5 separate regions of the Homo sapiens genome follow, and all the other regions are linked to region 4. Evidence: promoter capture Hi-C in 16 types of primary human blood cells and fetal thymus (Javierre and others, 2016). All regions are on one chromosome and are shown on one strand. Each heading gives the region's core, a stretch centred on a gene start or on the middle of the fragment in contact. The rest is flanking DNA. Distances are from core to core; before and after follow the strand shown. Region 1 has its middle 570 kb from the start of LINC01876. Region 2 has its middle 200 kb from the start of GALNT5. Region 3 has its middle 97 kb from the start of GALNT5. Region 4 holds the start of GPD2 (glycerol-3-phosphate dehydrogenase 2). Region 5 has its middle 79 kb from the start of GALNT5.

Region 1 (4,106 bases), core at 1,138-3,637, 750 kb before region 4:
CTGGTCTACTGTTGTCCATTTTGCTCTCATAAGTCTACCAGCCCCTTCTCAATTGCTTTCCACCAAAAATCTCCATTGCTTTAGACAGTGTCCTTAGGCTTGTGCTTTCCCACACTCTGTCCCAAAGGAAGTCAATCTCCTTAGAAAGAGTTATGGAACACTTTGCTCTTGTGTCCTGCCGCCTCCTATATGGTATCTCTATATCTGCTCCTCTGAATCCTTGCTCTGGATCTGGGGTGGCGACATCAGTCTGCTTCTTTAAGAGTGACAACTCAGTCTACTAGTGGAACACTGGATGTGGGTAGTAGCCTCTAGTCTTCCCATCTTGGCTTTCACAGGATGGAACCCATCGCCCTATGAGCAAGCTGCAGCAATGACAATGAGAGCCCAGTATTCTTGGCCCGCCACTCCTGGAGTAGATTTCCTGCCCTATATGTAGGAGTTGGATGGACAAAAGAGTCCCTGGACCTCTCTGTTGCTCTTGCCAAGAAAGAGCTTCTGCAATATCAAACTTGGGAGAGTGATTACAAATGCTGGTGGCCTGGCACGCCTGGGAGAAACCCTAGCCCTTGACTGGGTACTGGAGGCAAAGATCTTGGCTATACCCTCTCAGAGTAAAGTTCCAACTTGCTGAGCTGGTAGGGGGAAGCAACATGTGGAAGTTTATAGTACAGTTTTGTAATTTTGAAGATTCCAATTTCTCCTTCCCCAAAATAGACCTCCTTCTCTTTTTCAGCTTAGGTAGACTCTTTGAGATCCTCCAAGTTTGGAGACAGGGATAAACAAATATTGAAGTAAACTAAAAATAACTCTCTCTACTGGAATGAAGAGTTTGAAGAAACAACCCACTTTTATTTGTCTCTTAAACATTTTCAGGTTGAGAGAAATTAAAGACTTAAATAAATGGAAAAGTGTATCAGGTTCATGAACTGGGTGACTCAATATTAAAACATCATTTTTTTCCTTAAATTGATGTCTAGATCTAATGCAATCCAAACTAAAATACCAGAAGACTTTTTTGTAGTATTTATTAAGTTGAATCTAAAATTAAATAGAAATGCAAATAACCTAGAAAAGCCAAAAGCAATTTTGAAAGATAACAATGTTGGAGCACTTATACTATAAAGCTACAGTAATCAAAACAGTGTGTTTTTTGTTAAGACACACATATGTGTCAATGGAACAAATTAGAGTCTAGAAAAAAACCACAATTATGACACTTTTGACAAAAACGTAGGCAATTCCATGGAGAAAAAGTAGTTTTTTCAACAAATAGCCTTAGAACAGCTGGATATGCATATGAACTTCAATTCTTAATTCACACAACAAACAAAATTTAGCATGAAATAGAACATAGACCTAAAAATTAAAATTATAAATATAAAATTTCTAGAAGAGAACACAGTAGGAAATCTTTGCACACTTGGACTACGCAATGATTTACTAGGCAAGCCACAAAAAGCTGAGTCCATAAAAGGAAAATATTGATACATTTTACTTTATCAAAATTTATCTAAGAATCTTTCAGCTCTTAAATAAATGGAAAGGGAAGCCAAAAACTGGGAAAAAATATTCACAATGCATAAACTGATGAAAAGCTTATATTCAGAATATAAAAAGCATGTTTACATATCAGTTACAAGAAGACAACTCAATTAAAATTGGGAAAATGATTTTATTTTTCACAAAGGATGGTACACAAATGAATGATGAATACAAGAAACAGTGTTCAACGTCATTAGCAATCAGGAAAATTCACATTAAAACTGCAGTGAGATTCTACTATAAAATCACTAGAAGAGCTAAAATTAGGACTGAAAATATCAATTGCTGATCAAAATATATAGTAACTGGAACTTTCATACATTTCTGGTAGAAATGTAAATTTATGCACTTTGGAATAGACTGGCAGTCTTTCATAAAGACACATACACACTTACCAAATAAAGTTTGTGTTTAAATTAAAATAATAGTCAAACCAAATAAAAACAGTAATCCAAAGCACTACATACCAAATTTTAAAACAGATTTGATAGATTCATATTAAGTGGATTTGATATAGTCATATTTGACATAAACAAATTCAAAATACAGAATTTTAATAGGACTTGCTATTGCTTAGTGAGTCGACATCACATAACTCTAATACTCTAATCTCTGAGGAATAATTTTTAAAATCACTGTTTCCTGGTGACATTATTTCTAAGCCTTTATACATTTATGACCTTGTCATTATTCCTATTAAATTTTGGGGATTATATTGATTTTTAGTTTTTTTGGTAAAAGTGTTATTTTAGATTTCATTTATTTTCAAAACTTCCAACTAAAGTTCCTTAAACTTTTTTTGGATCACATGCAGCTATAAAATATTATCAGTTTCCAGAAAAATACAACAAATTGCAAGTACACTATGTTTAAGATGTAATTTTAGAAGGCCACTGGTCCCCTAAAGCACCTCTATTTATCTCCTAGAGAACCATGAACTATAAAATAATGATCTATGATTCAAATACAATTTTGAAATGTTGAAAATATGAAAGACAGGTAAACACAGTTTCAAGATTTTCTTCAGCATACAATGCTTATATAAGTATCATAGATCTAATTTAATGAAATACTAAACAAAGCATCTTATCACATAGCATTAAGCAGTTCCTAAGGAGCCACAGTACACATTACTCTTAGAAGAAATCTTGGATGGTGACTGGAAGGACCACATCTAAAATCAATGGACTTTAGTTGAAATTCTGATCTACAACTGTAGGCTCAATTCCCCTATCTGGGATTCGTGAATAGTTAACTATACCAATCTCTTTATTTGGTGTTAGAAGTATGTGAAATAATATAAAGTTACTTAGTATAATAATGGCACATATAAAACATTTAGTACATGTTAACAATACTTATTAGCACATACTATGAATGTTCTCATTGGTGATGTGAATATATACTCCAAAGCACCAAATTCCTGTTTAAATCCTACAAAGAATCTTCCAAAGACACCAAGTTTTCATAATTTCAGTGTTCTTTCTAAGTCGTTGCTTTTCACTATTACTTTTACATTTATGTAACAAAGGAATACTATTTTTATTCTGTTCTGTAGTGTTTGATATTGCACACATTTTTTTCCTTACATTATTGTCGGACAAGAGAACTCTGATTATGCACTGTTCACACAAAGCTTCCTTGTGTAATATTAAGATAGATCATTTGCCAAAAGAATAACCTCACCAAGAGGCCAAAGCATGGGACAACAAAAAAGTCTTTATGTAGTGATTGGTTCACAGGCATCCTGTGCCTTGAGGCGTGATTCAAATTTCCTCACTGAATTATATCTGTACATCTCTCACGCATATCCACATCCCTCACAAATCAACTTCCCTAGCTTCCAGAATTCATTAGGGATCTTATCCTCTCTCTAAAATAACTACAACTCTAATGCGTTCCCTGTTTATTTTCAACATAGAGCAAAGAGGAGCTGAATATTTAAGACCTTAGTTGTTAGACATGTTCGTAATAAAAGATTAAAGAAAAATAGAACAGAAAATTTGGATACAGAATACATCAGGCTTTTTTGGTTTAACTAAAGTCACTCAAGTTGTAAATTTAAGTGATTGAAGTTCTAAATAGAATAATAATTAAGATTTTTCAAAATGCAGAACTAGAAAAGAGAAACCTGGAAATTATTCCATCAAAGCTTTAACCTATAAAGCTTTAATTATATTCAGGATTTGAGGTTAGAATGATGAAGAATGCCTCCTTCTTAAATTAGGTTGAAGGTTTAAATCAAACTCAACAATTTCAGCAGTGCCCCAATAGATCTTAATGTCACATAGCTTTTTGCTCTTCATGTTCTTTTCTTTATTATTGCATTGCCTCATTAACTCTCTTCTGTCCAAAAATAATAGACCGGAGTAGGAGGGCTAGTGATTATTGAAAACCTAGGGGTGTTCAGTATCAATACCCAAAACTTAGTATACATCTTCTTAACTTCAAAGGAATATCATACTCATATACAGAAAAATTAAGAGCTTTTATATATAACTCCTTGTACCTCCAATTAAAAATGTGTGTAGTTTATACCACTTTAGGTTTTGTTGTTTATA
Region 2 (4,496 bases), core at 1,729-4,228, 630 kb after region 4:
ATTGCTTAGCCTAGTGCTAAGACGTGAAAAGGCATTTGTCCACATTCTTCTTAATCATTGAATCTCAAACTCAAGTATGCATCAGAATTTCCCCAGAGATTCTGATTCAGAAGGTCTAGATGAGGGCCTAGAGGGTTCTGAATTTTCAGGTGATTCTGACGCAGGTGGCCCAAGGACTGTACTTAAAGAAACCTTTTAGGACCAGCAGTCCTAGGAAGCCAGAGACGGGATGGTCCAGAGTCTCCTGGGAGCTATTGCAAATCCATATGCCTGAATGCCACACCAAACTCAAAGAATCAGGAGCTCTGGAGGAAGAAGACCTGAATATGTGTTTCTGGAAAGAACTGCTGAAGTTTTCTGCAACACTCCCTGACCTTGCTGTGTTCTGGAATTGTGATTTGACGGCTGTGTTGGGTGAAACCCCAGGAATTCAGGCCTTTTGTATGGCCAAATCGGTAGGGGCCTCCTTTTAGCCCTCTTACTAAAGCTCGACTCATATTGCTTTTTTAAAAAATGGGACTCCAAATAATGCTTGTTTGTTTGTTTTTGGTATACTGAGGAGAGAGCATTCTGGGGAAAAAATAGAAAAAGGAAGAAAAATTATTTTAAAACCACAACCGTAGAATTAATATCAGAGATTTCACTAAGGCCATATAGTTAATTTTGATCATTTTGAACCAGCTTTGTATCCAGTTTCATTTCCCCTTTCTCCTACAAAAGGTGTGATATTGAGGGAGTGTCTTGAATCATGAGAATCTCTGAATCTAAATGTTAACAAGTGATATTAATAAACTTAATTTTATTGTCACCTAAAATTCAAAAAGTCACACATTTCATTTTATTATTATCTAAAGATAATGCTACAGAAATAATCATAAAAAAACAATAAATTGACAGTTAAATCCATAAATTAGTTACAACTGATTTTTCACAAGCTTTCCACTTCCACTCAGCTATCAGCACCAAGAAAAAGGCTGATTTATTCTCTGTATGCTTCATAATGAGCGCATGGACTGAATGAACTGAGTGTTCTATTTATTCCTGGTTACAAACTGGCAAGGTTGCCATTGGACCAAGAAAAATGTTTCTAGTGTTATTATTAATGTCTGTTAAGAACCCAGAGTCTGGATTGTGCCCATAAAATTTATAATACAAAACTTATAGTCTGTCAAACACTGAAAGTCAAAAACTAAAAACAGGAAACGAACTAAATGTAAAAACGTAGGTGGACTAAGAATAAGCATTAACTACTCGCTAGAAAGATTTTTTTTCTTATTTAAAAAAATATTTTTGTTCTAATAGGGCCATCTTAAGGTTCAAAATCAACTAATTAAAATGATTTGTACAGAAAATGCTTATACTCACAATTTCTGATTTTGCTGCACGTGGAAGCGGGTGATAACCAATGAAGTGACTAAATAAGTTTAAAAGTTATTTAGATCACAACTTTGACCCATTCTGCTCATCAGATTTGTCTTTAACAGAGCCTCCAGGCGGCAAACATGACCTATATACACTTTATTCTTTTCTCTCTTGCTAAGCAGTCGAAAAAATCCCAGGGAGATAGCTCAAAGTTAAACTCAAGATGGAGAAGAAATATTGTAATATGTATTGTGGCTGAGGAAAAAAAAGTTTAAAAAACATTTTCAATATTATCTTTGCACAATCATCTATTTAACAAACATTGAGTACCTTCCACTCCTAGGCACTGGGGATGTAAAAATGAGGCCATTGTTTGTCATCTAGGAGAGAGGTTTCAGTCCCATAGTAGTGGCCCATTACTGAGCTGTGAAATCAATACAATAGGTTGTGACCACCATTTTTTTTTTCAAAAACAGATCAGAGTAGAAAATATTAAAGCATGCCACTCATAATAAGGGAATATATTATTTCTCGGAGCTGTGTTTCAGTCTGTATCTGTGTAAATGTGAGCACGTGTGTGTGTGTTCCAGATCACAATGTAAAAATGCATTTTAATGATAGCTGCATTAAAAAAGTTTGAAAGCGTCTGTTAAAGAGTCTACCAGACATGAGAATCGCTTGAACCAGGGAGCCGGAGGTTGCAGTAAGCAGAAATCACGCCACTGCACTCCAGCCTGGGGGACAGAGCAAGACTCCATTCCCCTCACCCCAAAAAAATAGTCTGCCAGAGAAGTAGACAATTAAATATAGAATTAAAACAAAATGTGACAGGTGTTTTTTTTAGAGATGTGGAAAAGTAACCCTAAAATCTAAAGAGAAAGAGTGGCTACCTCTGCCAGGAGTGGAAATGACCACCGAGGGACAGTCTTGATATTCAAACTAGGACCAAAATGATGAAATTTGAGATAGAGAGGGAGACTTGACAGGACATTCCAGGCAGAAGGAACCAATTGTGTGGGGAGTTCTGAAAGGGAGCACTGTGTTTACACAGGGGTGAGAATGTGGGGGTGGGGAGGATAAGATTTATGGGGGCAATGCGAGGGGAATGGCATGTGATAAAGACAGAGAAGTGCATATGCAACAAGCTTGTCACTGAGGAGAAGAATGACAATGATGGGCATAGTTTGCTTTGCTTTGTTTTCTTATTTTTGAGAAAGTAACATTGTCACCAAGACTGCCTGGAAGAGAAAGAGAGACAAGTGAGAAGATTCTTGCCATCATTCAGGCTAATGTTGATGATAATTGAGCATAGTAAAGGTGGAGAGGAGGAGATGCCACATTTGGAAAGCAATTCTAACAGAATCCACATGATTTCAAGTCTAATTATGCATATATTCTGAGTTATCAATGATTCAAGTGGTCCTATTATTGCAAGACTACAAAGACAACAGCATCAGAAGGTAAGAGAGACGTCTATTTTTCCCCTTTGATAATATCATTTTATTTTCAATAATGAGCAATTGCATACCTTTTTTAAACCTTCATTTTTAATCTGCTAAATGGAGATGCATGTAATACAATTTAAAAGCCTTCAATAAAAGTTTCTTTTTAACTTTGTACTCTTTTGAACAGACTATGTTTTATCATTACATAATTCTGCATTATAAAACCACATGGTTGCTGGTGCCATCCACCAGCAACTGTAATTCAAATGTTTCACTTCTTAAACCAAAGGCATTAATATGATTAGCCCAAAGATATCAGAGAAATAACATACTAATCATTTTTATTTAAAGATGAATTTAATGAAATACATTGAATTAAGGTTTTATATAGCACAAACTAGGTAAGGGAGAAAATAAGCCATGTTGGTCATATCATCAAAATAATAGGAAAGTTCTGTTTCTCTTCTAACCTTGTTCATACCCAGACACATAAGCCTGTAAACATTATCTCCTTATCCTGCCATAATAAGAAGGCATCCTTATGACACATTTCAAACTTTCTATCTGGGCATCACAGAATCATTTGCTCCCCAAAGAAAGGCATCCACTTCACAGGAAAATGCAAATAAAAGCAAGTCAACTCAAGCTTTGGGGATTCCCTAGAGTGCAAGGCTTGTGGCCCAAACACCTGTTTAGTTGCCTTGACAAAAACCACATGATTATCTCAATCGATGCAGGAAAGGCCTCCAATAAAGTTCAACACCCCTTTGTGCTAAAAACTCTCAATAAACTAGGTACTGATGGAACGAATCTAAAAATAATAAGAGCTATTTATGACAAACCCACAGCCAATATCATACTGAATGGGCAAAAGCTGCAAGCATTCCATCTGAAAACTGGCACAAGACAAGGATGCCCTCTCTCACCACTCCTATTCAACATAGTATTGGAAGTTCTGGCCACGGAAATCAGGCAAGAGAAAGAAATAAAGTGTATTCAAATAGGAAGTCAAATTGTCTCTGTTTGCAGATGACATGATTATATATTTAGAAAACCCCATCTTCTCAGCTCAAAATCTCCTTAAGCTGATAAGCAACTTCAGCAAAGTCTCAGGATACAAAATCAATGTGCAAAAATCACAAGCATTCCTATACACCAATAATAGAGAAACAGACAGCCAAATCATGAGTAAACTCCCATTCACAAGTGCCACAAAGAGAATAAAATACCTAGGAATCCAACTTACAAGGGATGTGAAGGACCTCTTCAAGGAGAACTACAAACCACTGCTCAAGGAAATAAGAGAGGACACAAACAAATGGGAAAACATTCCATGCTCATGGATAGGAAAAATCAATATTGTGAAAATGGCCATACTGCCCAAAGTAATTTATAGATTCAGTGCTGTCTCCATCAAGCTACCATGGACGTTTCTTAGAATTAGAAAAAAAACACCTTCCATATGAAAGTATAAATAACCACTCTTAGCTGTTTTTCTTAGGATTGTAAAAATTCACATTAAGATAACTTCCAAGTTATTTTTTAATTGAGTACATTATGGCCAAATTATGCCACATGTGTTATGCCAGATGTGTAATGCCATGTAAATGGAACAATGTGGGGATTCCCTATTTCTCTGTAGTAAGAGCCAGTCAAGGAATGTGGTTTGGAGAAGTCAAAGAGTGCTGA
Region 3 (4,145 bases), core at 609-3,108, 720 kb after region 4:
TTACTCTGGCAAGAATTTATTGGAAAAGTAAGTTAAATAACTAAATGAGGAAAATCCATTGAAGACAGGAAAGCCTAAGTGAAGTCATGCAGGTAGAGTCAGTGGAGGTAAGGTCGAAATAAAGGGGATAGTTGCAAAGAAACATTAATGCAAAAGACTTGATAGGATTTGGGTATATAAGAAAAGAATGTCATAGCTGGAAACGATTTTGGAAATTATGTATTCCAATCAGCTCATTTGTTAGATAAATTGAAACTCAAAGCAATTAAATGAATTGTTCAATGGTTCTGGAAGCAGTTAACTATGAGGCTAAAACCAATACTAAGTTCTATGAGTTTCCAGTTCATTTTTCCCTCTCTACTAAATTGGAATACAGAATGAGGGAGAAGAAGGGCAGAAATGCCTGGAGTTTTAAACCCAGAGTAGTGTAGTGACATCAAACAAAATAGAGAACCCAAACTCTCAGACATATTCAGTTATAATTCTAATGGGACTACATAATGAAAATTTGTGACTGAACGTCAGAATTCAGGATAAAATTACGGATGAAAGTCATATTTATAGTTGTTATTTGAAAACTATACAAAAGAAGGGCAAAGAAGAAAGAGCAGGAAAGACATTAAGGGAAAAGGAGTGAAAAGAGATGAGAAAGTACATCAATCTGGTACATGTTATTTAAGGGACTGGAAGCAAACCAGAAACTAGAGAAAGGTATCAAAACATCAATGGCATGGAAGTGGCAATCAAATACTAGATGTAGTCTCTCAGAAATGCTGTTGAAAGGTTTTGTGCATTGGGAGAAAGGTTAAAGTATCTGACATCTGAGTTCTTTCTGATTTAGGGACTATGATCAATTATTGCAGCAAAATGTGAAGTGAATTTGATTGAATCTGACTTCAACACTGTATTTTATTATATATCTGTACTATTAACTAATGAATTCAGAAATGTAGCTTGTATAAGTAGGCACAGATATGAAAGCTTACTAGGACTACGAGTTCCTTTGGCACTGTTTTACATCATGGGAGTAGGGGCCACGTATAAAAACAATACACACATACACACATGTGTATCCTTATGTTCCCTTTAATTACTGTGTACATAGTTTGCTGCATTATAGTGGCCAGCATATATATACATATATAATCTTCATAGTTGATTTGTGACATTTTTCTCTGATGTGCTACAACCATTTGGAAATATGCTCTCTGAAGAATGAATATGTGAGTTTTTAGTGTGCATACAATTTTTCACTGCTTATGAAAGAATCAAGTGTATAAACTACGCATAATAAATGTAAATAATTGACAGACTCTGCCAGTATAATCTGAGTTTGTAAGCAACGAGACGTCAAAGGCCACTTGAACATTATTTCCTTATACAGCAACCAAAATATGAGGCACCATTATAAGTTAAGGCATTAACATAAGTAGAATGCAAAAAAGAAAATGAATTAAGCTCCCTCCTTACCCACAGCCTTAGTATATTTTATTTTAACTTTTCCCAAAGTTGTTTTTCCATGTGTCACTTCAACCTTTTCAGTATGTTCAGGCCAAATGTGTTCCTTCCCTGAGCTCCCAGTTGACCTTTAGATATCACATTATATAGTATGTAGTTTATACAACCTGAAGGAACCCCAATTCTCACCAAATTGTAGGTACACTTAAGGTCACATTATAAGAAGCAAACCTATTGCTTTGAAAGCACCTCTTACTTTCCCAACACAAAACCCCTGCTGCCTTCTCTTTACAGATCTTCTTACTCTCCTCTAGAATGTCCTTGGAAATGTCTATGGGGAAGATTCTCCAACAGGTGCTCCTACAATAGGTTGATTGTAAACCTGCTCAGACAGACAGCCTTTTTGTTTAACGTCTTTTCAGCAGCAGTCTCCCTTGTCACTCCACTCAATGTCATGGTCTTCCTGTTCTGCTTGGATCACTGCCCGTTACTGCCTAAGGGCAGTCCATCATGCCACCAAGATTCCTTGGGCTATTTCCTGCACCATCAATGCCATTGCATTCCAGGACGAGCCCTGCTTTCCCTCTGCCTCTCATCTCTAAGCCACCAAATAATATTTTTACTGCCTACTGGGTCTCCTGGGCTTCCTGCTCATCTGCAAATAGCAATGCACAATAGATATAAATGTGCTCAGCTCCTCTAGAAAAGCCCTGCAGTTCTTCATCCTAAGGATATTAATAGTAGCTACACTTACTGAAAACCAAATACATGTCTGAAACTTGTATAAGTGCTTTAGACATACAGTTGGCCCTCTGCCTCCATTCCGCATATACGGGTTTGGCCAACAGTAGGTTGAAAATACTTGAAAAAATATTTTAAACAGTAAAAAAGTATGATAATAAAAGGCAATACAAATTTAAAAACCAATATAGTATAATAACTACACAGCATTTACATTATATTAGGTATTATAAGTAATCTAGAGATTATTTAATGTATACAGGAGGATGTATTTAGGTTATATACAAATACTACGCCATTTTATATAAACAACTTGAGCACCTGTGGATTTTTGGTATCCAGGGAGGGAGGTCCTGAATATTTTGGTATCTGGGAACAATCTCCACCAGATACCAAGGAGTGACTCTACAGACTCATTTTAATCTTTATGAAAACTCTCTAATATAGGTGCTATTTTTCACATAGAAATAACTTACCAGAGGATACTCAGCTACTAAATGGCAGAGGCCCCATTTGAACCCAGGCAGTCTGGCTCTGAAGCTTGTACTCATAACCACTATACTACCCAGCAAGTGTTTGAACCATCAAGGTCTCCTAAGAGCCATATGTTCTTCTCCTCTAATTCCCAGGCTCTGCTGCTGACTCTGAAATTTCTGGCCAGCCATCAGTTTCCCTCTAAGGGATATTTTCTCTAGATATTTTCCTAGGTAGTTTCAGTCAAATCTCTACAATTTAATTATTCATCCTAATTCAAATAAATTGACATGAATGTCTTAATCTGTGATGAGATCAAAATTCAAGATCATTTTCAAGTAATTTCTAGCCACATAAAACTTAGGGGATACAATTAGATGTGAAAAAAAGGTTGCTTTACTCACAGATGGTGCCTATCCCAACTGGTTCTCTGGCTCAGCAGGAATCTTCTCCCACTTGTTGACTGCTATGACTCCCTAGATTGGCTACGAGACCTATGAGGTTTAACTTTATCTTCTCTGTTCTTATAGCAGTGTGTAGTATCCAGCAAGTATTCAGTACAATTTCAATGGATGAATTTAAATAAATTGATTAAATCTTTCAATTACAACAAGAGAGGAAAATGTCAAATAAATCTACAGTCAGTTCAAGGCCTATAAGTATGTGTTAAATATTTATTAGCAAATGTGTAAATATTTACTATAATACCAATAATGCATGGGTTTGCCCTATTGGCTTTGAGACTTTTCTAAGCATATGTAAAATAAAACATCACTATCATAAAACAGTTGAATTAACAATGGAATAAGAATTCAAAATGAGTGGGTGTATGAGGAAAACACCAATACTACATTATTATTAATATTGTTTTATAATTACATTATTATATGACAAAATCAGTTCTGGTAACAAGTTTGAGTTTTTTAGAACTTTAAATATTTACAATTCAACTATAATTGTCACTCTGTTACAAATGGCAAAATGCCAATATACAAAGGAATATCTTAGGATACGATATTAGGAGAAGTACTCAAAAGTAGTTGTTGATCACACGCCCTCCAAGGAAAACACTCTCCAGGGATGTCCTGATGCCTAAATTTGAAGACAATCAATAGATATGTATAGAAAGTGCATATGACATAGGCCTTCTCCAATAAAACAGGGGAGAATACAAGCTGCTTGAAGACAGACCCCAGCTATAGAAATCTCTGCTGTATTTATTTCCCATTATGTCCTTCCATTGTGATTACCTAATGTTATTTGTTACTTGGTGCATCTTTTCTATTGCTGCAGCAACAAATGACCACAAACTATAGCTTGAAACCTCACAAATTTATTATCCTACAATTCTGCAAGTTAGAAGTCTGGTATAGGTCTCATCAGGTATTGGCCAGCTATGCTCCTTTCCTAGAATAGAGGTTGCCAGCATAGAGAAAATTTCATATTCCTTGCTGCCTGAAAACTGAGGGTCA
Region 4 (4,067 bases), core at 353-2,852:
AGAACTACCCAAAGGGCTTGTTAAATCTGGGTAGCTCAGCCCCAGCCCCAGAGTCTATGAATCAGGTCACTGGAGTACAGTTTCTGTCAAGTTCTCAGGTGATGCTGATGCTGCGGGCTCCAGTGACTACACTTTTAGAGCCAGTTTTAAAATACAAGGACTTGCAGATCCCACGTCCAGACTGACTCATTGGACTTGGGGATGGAAATCTGGCATTCCACCCCTCCCTGCCCCCTCCCCCCAATTTTAATGTGTCCAAGGGTGAGAATCATTGCTCCTCTGTGGACTATGGATGGTTCCCTGAAGTTACTGAGTTTGGGATTTAATAAATATATGCATTCCTCTGGGTCAACTACAGGAATTCTGCGGTATTTAAGGACATTAAATGAGTGACTTAATACTTTATTTAAAAAAATACCACTGCTTTTTGGTTCACACTAATTTTCTTCCTTCTTTTGGAAAGGCATTTCCGTCCATCTCCTGGATATTTTCCAATACCACGATAGAAAGGTTATTAGTACAGCACCCAGAGGTCTTCGGAGCAAAGCTGTTAAAGAAGTGGGGTCCATTTGAGCCCCAACTTTGCCTTCCTTAGGTCCCCTTGGGCTTGTCTAGCCCTAGGAGTTCCAACAAGTAAGCTGGGCATGCTCAGTGGGCAGGGTCGTTTTTTTTTTTTGGGTGGCGGGGGGTTGCAAGTGGGAAGCCTGCTGTTCAGCTGCCGGGGCTCTCCGCCTCCCCCCACCTGTATGAGGCTGGGTCTGGGGAACCTGTGCTCAGCATTCCACCCCCTGGAGCTTGGGCTTGGTCTTCCCTGCGGGTCCCTGCGCTGACATTCAGGCGGGGAGCCAGGAGGCCTGGCGCGCCTCCAGAGCCCGCCGGGGGAGCCGGGCGAGGGTTCTGGGCTCTGACGGCGGGGTCGCAGGGTCGCCCGCCTCCTGGACACGTCTGTAGGCCTAGGGAAGCCTGCCGGCCGGGAGGTACAGAGTAGGAGAAGCCAGATCCCAGGGCGGACAACGAGAAGTCGTCAGGTAAGCCAGCCCCGCCAGCGTGCCGGCGGACGAGTGTCTCCTCTCCCGCAGGCAGATGGCCAGGGCGGCCCGCATGGGCGAGGGCACAGGAAATCGGACACCGCCACCGTCTTCCCCAGCCTGGCCTAGCTCAGGCTTTCCAGTCCGCCAGCCCGCTGGCAAGGCGGGGCGGAGGTCTGGAGTCCGGCATCGCCGAGGCACAAAGCAGGAACTGCAGCCAGGGGCGAGGGCCCTTGCGTGTGGCGCTGCGCGACCCCACCCGGCGGCAGGACCCGCGTCCCCGTCTAGTCACGTTCATTGGGCCACGGAGACCACCTCGCTCGCCGCCCGCTGTTGGCTTTTCCCTCCCACACCCCCGCCAACCCCGGCCCCGGTTCCCGCCCCCACTTCCGCGTTTCCCCGCTGGGCCGGAGGAGCCTGGGCCCGAGGTATCCGGGCAGGAGGTGGCGGCCTCGCCGCCCTGGTCAGGCCTCCGGGAGGGAGCAGGCGCGGGAGCGGGAGGAGGAAGTCGGGAAGAGGGAAGGCGGGGGCGCGGCCCGCCCGGCGCTCGAGTTACACCCGCCCAGCCCGCCTCGAGTGACAGCCCCGCGCGCCTCGCTGGGAGCACCCGGGCCGAGGCTCTGATTCTGGGGGGAGGCCGACTCCACCCTGGCTGGAGGAACTGGGTGCTCCTGCCCGCTGGCCCCTCGCGCGTGAGGATCTATCTCAGGTGTGTGCTTCCTGGGAGACCCCTTCCCCCGCCTCTAGTATTCTAGGGGGGGAGTGGTCCCTTTCTGACCCGGGCGAGTGTTCTGGGACTCCAGTCTTGGCGGTAGGTGGTGGCGGGAAACGGGAAAGATTTAGAATTTCTTCCCACCAGCAGAAGATGGATTCGCTCTTCTCTAGGGTTTCGTTGTTTATGTTTTGGAGGCGGCATTTGTAAAATAGTAAAGTGGCAGGACTTTTGGGGCGAGGGTTGGTACCCCATTGAAAGTTCATGCAAACTTTTAGCTTGTAGATGCGGCTAGTCTGATAAGGATTGTTGCTCCCTTCCGAAGCAAGAGTGAGAACGAGTCTGGAGGAGGGCTGAGGCTTCTTTGAGAAACTCAGCTGCTGGCGTGTGACCGTCCTAGGAGGAAATGGAAGGTGCACACTGATAACTTAAAACAGCCTCCACTCCCTATGTAGTAACTTCTACCAGCAAAAATAGATTTGCAAAGAGTGCTTTGGCAGGAAGGTGTAGCTGGGTGAATGAAGTGCTGCTCTTAGCAGATGGTCTCTAGTCTGGCTTCCACCTTGTGCAGTGGAATATTCACTCCCAGAAGAGTTCCAGAGTAATTTACAAACACAAATTCTTGCAAAGTGTTAGTGACATGGGCAACCCAAATCACACACAACACATTATAAATATCATAGGAGGCAGCTATAGAAATAGCAGCTAGTCAACTTATACTTGTATAAATAGGTGAGGGAAGGAAGTTAGTAAGTGACAGGGAGTCTTTATTGCTAAAACAAAACTGTTAGTATTTTGCATGTGTTCCAAGTTTAAAGAGATGTGAAGTTTCTTTTTGGCGTGTGGACGGTGCTGGCAGCTGTCACACTGGGCCCAGGCACTTCTTCGTAGCTACTGACCACTCTAGTCCCAGTCCTACAGTTCTTGCTGGCTACCACATGACATCTGGATGCCATTGCCCAATGGAGACCGTGTGCAGTCTGGGGAACCTTGTGATGTGGATGTTGAAACCCCCCTCTGTTTCTCACAGGGGCGTTATGTCAAATTACAACACTCCCTTGACTTTTACAAATCAACTCGTGAAATAATACAGCAATATTTTAATGAATAAATGGGTAAATATGGGGTTTTGGGTTTGAGAACCAACAATGGATTCATTGCAACTGTCCATTCTCATAGCTTATAGAGTCACTTTATTTTATAAAGAAATTCTAAACAGCATTAGAGCTCTGCTTCCTTCTTTCTCCCTTGTGATTCATTCAAAGATGCAATGGCTTGGTTCAGGAATTGACAAAAGGGCCACAGTGTTACCAATTGTTAGTGAGTGTTACCACCCCCTTTAGTTTTTTTTGTAACTATTTAATCTCATTGTAGATATTTTAAAAGATTTGATGATTATTGTGCATAACTCATGTTGGCAAACTATTATAACTCTGAACTTATCCTGTTTGGTTGTTTTCTTTCATCTCTAGCGTGTAAGTTCTATGAGAGTAGCAGGGCTTGTTCTGTCTTGCATACTTTCAAAACTCTAATGCCTGGAGTGGTGACTAGCTTGTAATACACCCTCAATAAATGTTTTCTCAATGAGTGACCTCCAATGCCTAGAGGGGTGACTAGCTTGTAATACACCCTCAATAAATGTTTTCTCAATGAGCGACTGAACTGTGGAACAAACTCCAGCTGAGGGTAGTTGTGGAGCGGGGAGCCAAAGACTTTGGCCTTAGGTCATCTTTTAAAACTCAGCCTCAATTGTCTCATTGGCAAAATATGGATAATAAATGCTATGACGTGTGTAAAATTGCTAGCAATGTACCTGGCAAGTAGTAGACTTCAAAAGACTAGCTTCCATCCTATATTTTTCCTTCTTATACTCAAGTAGGAAAATATGGGCAAAGAATGTAGTTAGCTTGAAAATTTGGGCAAAGAATTCTTGCATGTTGTGCATGAATTATCCGTACATTTTTTTCGGTTAGTTGAGTGTGTTGGGATGGGGAGAGGAGAGGCGAGTTAGTGGTAGCTATGGTTATTAGAGAAGGGAAGCAATTTTCAGATCAGTATCTAATTTCTCAGTTTTAGTTTTTGAATGTGATGATGTTTCTGTTTAGGTTTTCCAAAACTTGATTCTTTCTGTTTGTCAACACCTGGACTCATGGGGCTATCCTAAGTGCAGAAACAACACTTCAGAAAGAGGACTAGAAATCAAATATATGAACACTAGTCTTCTTAAATGAAATTTTCTGTATTCTTGTGCAGCATTATATTGTGTAATAAGTGCTAAATAAAAAAATAGTTAACCTCTTTTGAGAAGCTTACAGTTGTTTAACAAG
Region 5 (4,471 bases), core at 1,899-4,398, 740 kb after region 4:
TTTGACTGCCCTGCTGGATTTCAGACATGCATGGGGCCTGTAGCCCCTTTGTTTCAGCCAATTCCTCCCATTTGGAATGGCTGTATTCACCCAATGCCTGTATTCACTCAATGCCTGTATCCCCATTGTATCTAGGAAGTAACTAACTCGCTTTTGATTTTACAGCTCATAGGCAGAAGGTATTTGCCTTGTCTCAGATGAGACTTTGGACTGCGGACTTTTGAGTTAATGCTGAAATGAGTTAAGACTTTAGGGGACTGTTGGGAAGGCATGACTGTTTTCGAAATGTGAGGACATGAGATTTGGGAGGGGTCAGGGTGGAATGCTATGGTTTGGCTCTGTGTCCCCACCCAGATCTCGAATTGTACTCCCATAATTCCCACGTGTTGTGGGAGGGACCCAGTGGGAGATAATTGAATCATGGTGGTGGTTTCCCCTATACTGTTCTCATGGTAGATGAATCAGTCTCTTGAGATCTGATGGTTAGATAAGGGAAAATCCATTTTGCTTGGCTCTCATTCTCTTTCTTTGCCTGCTGCCATCCATGTAAGATGTGACTTGCTCCTCCTTGCCTTCCACCATGATTGTGATGTCTCCCCAGCCATGTGGAACTGTAAGTCCATTAAACATTTTTCCTGTAAAAATTACCGAGTTTTGGATATGTCTTTATCTGCAGCATGAAAACAGACTAATACAGTTACTTATAGTCAAAATCTTTCTAAATGATAGATTGTAGTGTTCATATACTATATGATTAATAAATACTTGTAGAATTTAAAATTATTCAATATATTGGTTCATTCTATTAACTCTGTCTATAGGAAACCAAAGCACTCAGATCCCATGGCTATGGCCCAGCTACTACTATTTTCCTTGTGGTCAGATATAGCCCATAGTATCTAAAGAGAGCCTAAACAGCCTCTGCAAAATTATCCTACTAATTTCAACCTTAGCCAGCGAAGGAATATTTCCCACAATTTAAATCAATATGCCAGCATTGTGGCTGTATCTTCTTGTCCTTGGAGGCAAAAATATTTATTTCTGTCAATTAGTAAGTTCCATGAGGTGAGAAATCACCTTTTAAAATATTTTCCAAATGCAATTAATACTTTCGGTCTCCCAAAAGTATTTGAGAACAGAAACCAGATAAATTTTCTTAATCACATGCCAAAGAAAAAAAATCAAACCAGAAATTGTATTAATTATTATCTTTTAGTTTAATCATGATTCTCAGCCCTGGTAGAACAGAATTATCTGCACAACTTTTAAAGAATATCTCTACTTCATCTGCACCCCCAGAAGTTCATTTTTCGTTGGTTTAGACTGGAACTTAGAGATAATTAGTTGACTAAAGTTTTCAGGTGATTTTAATTACAGCCCAGATTATAACACAGTAGTTGAAGCTGTGTAAGAAGAAACCTCAAAGCTAAATTGTTCTTTTTGCTTTAGGTAAACCGTCAGTGTGTTTCCATGTAAGTATAACACATTTCTACTTTTTGTATATATTTTCAAAAGCCTCAAATAGTTCTTGGCATTACAGGATCACTTGCAAACAATTAGCTATAGCATCAAAGATATTGAATGGCTACTCAAACATCAAAGATTTTTTTTTCCATATTTGAAAGCATATGAAAAAAATCTAGAGCAAATTTCATGAAGATGTTTTCCTGTCTACAACTCTGAGTCATTAAAAGAAATGCTTTGGGCCAGGTGCAGTGACTCACGCCTATAATCCCAGCAGTTTCGAAGGCCAAGGTCGGAGTATCACTTTAGGCCATGAGTTCAAGACCAGCCTGGGCAACATAGTGAGATCCTGTCTCTAATAAAAATAAAAAGATTAGCCAGACATTGTGGTGCATGCCTATAGTCCTAGCTACTCGAAGGGCTAATGTGGGAAGATCCCTTCACCAGGAGTTTGACTATATCAGGTGCTTATTAAAAGTAAAATTTCTGGGCAGATCTCTGATCTAAGAAATCAGAACCTCTGGTATAAAGCTCAAGAATGACAGTTCAAACAAGACTGCAGATGATTCTAACATATACCAATGAACTCTAAACTTTGAGAATCACAAAAATTCCATCCAGTCAGATGCCCTATTCAAAAAATTCTTGAATTTTTTTCTTTTTTTTCTTTACGTACTCCCTTTTGACCCATTAAGAGTCATATCTGAGCCGGACGCGGTGGCTCACGCCTGTAATCCCAGCACTTTGGGAGGCTGAGGAGGGCGGATCACGAGGTCAAGAGATCGAGACCATTCTGGCCAACATGATGAAACCCCATCTCTACTAAAAATACAAAAATTAGCTGGGCATGGTGGTGTGCACCTGTAGTCCCAGCTACTTGGGAGGCTGAGGCAGGAGAATGGACTGAACCCGGGAGGAGGTGAAGCTTGCAGTGAGCCGAGATCGCGCCACTGCACTCCAGCCTGTGTGACAGAGCAAGACTCCGTCCAAAAAAAAAAAAAATCATATCTAGCAAAAACAAACAAACAAATAAACAACAAAAACAACGCTTACTCTTCCCATAATCTTTGATGTTAATTTGCCAGAGGGTTGAATTATTAGGTTTGTGCAAAAGTAATTGTGGTTTTTGACATGATTTTCAATGGCAAAAACTGCAATCACTTTTGCACCAACTTAATATCTATTCTTTGTAATAACCTCTTCCAGAATAGCTAAAAGGCCAGGCTCCTCTGAGCCATCCTTGAGTCAACTTAAGATGCAGACACCTTTTTCTAATTGGTGTTGCCAGCAGGGGGCACTTGTTTTGAATCTGACCCCTTGGGAAAAAGCAATTTCCCTCATTTAACCACATTTACTATATTGTGACAGTATTGCACAAATACTTTTGAATTAGTTCCTCAGGAAGGCAGTCAATGCAGAAAAAGACAAACATTCAGACCTTAAAGGTCTACATTTGCTTCTTTGAAATGTGTAATGTACACATGGGCTTTCAAAGGCATTAAAAATTTTCAAAGTCCCTACTATGATAAAATATATTCTTCCAAAATAATCACTACCATTGACACTCTTCAATTTATAAAGCACTAGTTAAAGCATTTCACAACTCCCAAGAAGTAGATGTGCATTTTAAATTGGTGACATGACTTGCCCTGAATCACGTAGCCTGTATGTAGCAGAGATGGAGATCTGTAGGTAGCCATAGGAGCTCTCCACTCAAAAGTAAGTATTTTCTCTCTAACCTCTTGTCCAGCTGCCAAGAGATTCATTGTTTCCACTATAAGAGCGTGTCCATCCCTCCCCTCAGTACCATCAGTACTGTATAAATGACTTTATGGTTTTCTCAAAAGTAAGAGTATTAATTACAACTCTCTGTCATTCAAACAAGTGGAGATTTATCACATTTTACCAAAAAGCACTTTTTAAAACAAAAATGTTTCTTGTATAGCAAAGATAAGGGCTCATCTTTGGACCCCACAAACCGCTGATATCCCCTTAAAGGCTCACTTTTCTCTTTCATTCTTGCCCCATCACCAGAGACCAGGTTTTGACTCCCAGTATCAGGAATTCTACCTCATATAATTGTGCAGTTGAGCTGTTGCACTCCACGTAAGACTTCAGCCAAGAAGACAACAGGGTAGCTGGAAGGCCAGACTTCTCTCAGCCATCCTGGAGTCAACTTAAGATGCAGACACCTTTTTCTAATTGGCATTGTCAGTGGGGGGCACTTTTTTCAAATCTGTCCCCTTGGGGAAAGCTATTTCTCTCATATGCATCAAAGCACTGTATATGCCTGTTGGCCCTACCTATATGTATCTCAGGATTAAATAAATAAATAAATAAATAAAAGCTATTGCCTTGTTTTTCCAGGAATAGTTCTGTAGTTTTTGCAGAACAAGAAGTCTGCATTCAAAGTAACATGCAGTTTCACTGTTATTGCCCTGTCCAAGCTTGTGGTGTAATTTCTTCTTCATTCACTCAGTCTCACAAAAGGGATAATGAAATCAACTTTCATCCAACTTCAGGCAATCATAAAACTCTGAGATTTACAGCTACCACTGCAAAGTCAGTGAGTATTGTAAGAGCCTTGAATTAGAACAAGTAGTAAAGAATCCATGTAAGAATAGGAAGCTCTGAGGTTGTATATACTAAGACCTTAGTGTTACCTAGACTCACCTCACAGCTTGTGGAAAAAGCTGATTCCTGGTCCTACCATAGATACTCTGACTTGGATCTGAGGAGGGCCAGCTTCATCTTGAGAATTCTATGTAGGGTAGGGCTTAGGGGAGGCCATCTGGTTGGAAGACGAAGCTGGGAGGTTTGCCATGAGGCTATGTTTGTAAAGAAAGCACACTCTTTTTAACTTAGTGTGTATGTTACAGATCAATATCAATATAAAAGTTTCCTAAACTTTTACTCACACTTTATATAAAAGTGATTACATTGGCCATATTAAAAGTAAGATTTTTATTTGGGAATGAAGGGAGCTGATGGAGACTGGGTTGGCTAC

What was found. Contacts are between HindIII fragments. The CHiCAGO score rates a contact against its expected background, and 5 or more counts as called.
Region 1: a contact is called between a fragment that was not itself captured here and the fragment with the promoter of GPD2 in region 4, in 4 of 17 cell types (M1 macrophages, M0 macrophages, monocytes and 1 more). The highest score is 8.7, in M1 macrophages.
Region 2: a fragment that was not itself captured here is called in contact with the fragment with the promoter of GPD2 in region 4 in 1 of 17 cell types (endothelial precursors); the score reaches 6.1 in endothelial precursors.
Region 3: a fragment that was not itself captured here is called in contact with the fragment with the promoter of GPD2 in region 4 in 1 of 17 cell types (endothelial precursors); the score reaches 5.1 in endothelial precursors.
Region 5: a fragment that was not itself captured here is called in contact with the fragment with the promoter of GPD2 in region 4 in 2 of 17 cell types (endothelial precursors and monocytes); the score reaches 8.0 in endothelial precursors.

Annotation. Positions count from the first base shown.
Region 1 is chr2:155,686,738-155,690,843 of GRCh38, forward strand. No RefSeq gene overlaps it. Among named protein-coding and RNA genes, the nearest start is that of LINC01876, 570 kb to the right of the region's middle. The HindIII fragment of the contact is 1,583 bases long and covers 1,597-3,179 here.
Region 2 is chr2:157,058,551-157,063,046 of GRCh38, forward strand. No RefSeq gene overlaps it. Among named protein-coding and RNA genes, the nearest start is that of GALNT5, 200 kb to the right of the region's middle. The HindIII fragment of the contact is 946 bases long and covers 2,506-3,451 here.
Region 3 is chr2:157,158,371-157,162,515 of GRCh38, forward strand. No RefSeq gene overlaps it. Among named protein-coding and RNA genes, the nearest start is that of GALNT5, 97 kb to the right of the region's middle. The HindIII fragment of the contact is 1,758 bases long and covers 980-2,737 here.
Region 4 is chr2:156,434,777-156,438,843 of GRCh38, forward strand. GPD2 (glycerol-3-phosphate dehydrogenase 2) reads left to right here and starts at 1,603. Exons shown (of 17, transcript NM_000408.5): 1 at 1,603-1,737. RefSeq lists silencers at 705-874, 1,315-1,724 and an enhancer at 1,115-1,164. The HindIII fragment of the contact is 5,965 bases long and covers 1-4,046 here.
Region 5 is chr2:157,176,311-157,180,781 of GRCh38, forward strand. No RefSeq gene overlaps it. Among named protein-coding and RNA genes, the nearest start is that of GALNT5, 79 kb to the right of the region's middle. The HindIII fragment of the contact is 1,522 bases long and covers 2,388-3,909 here.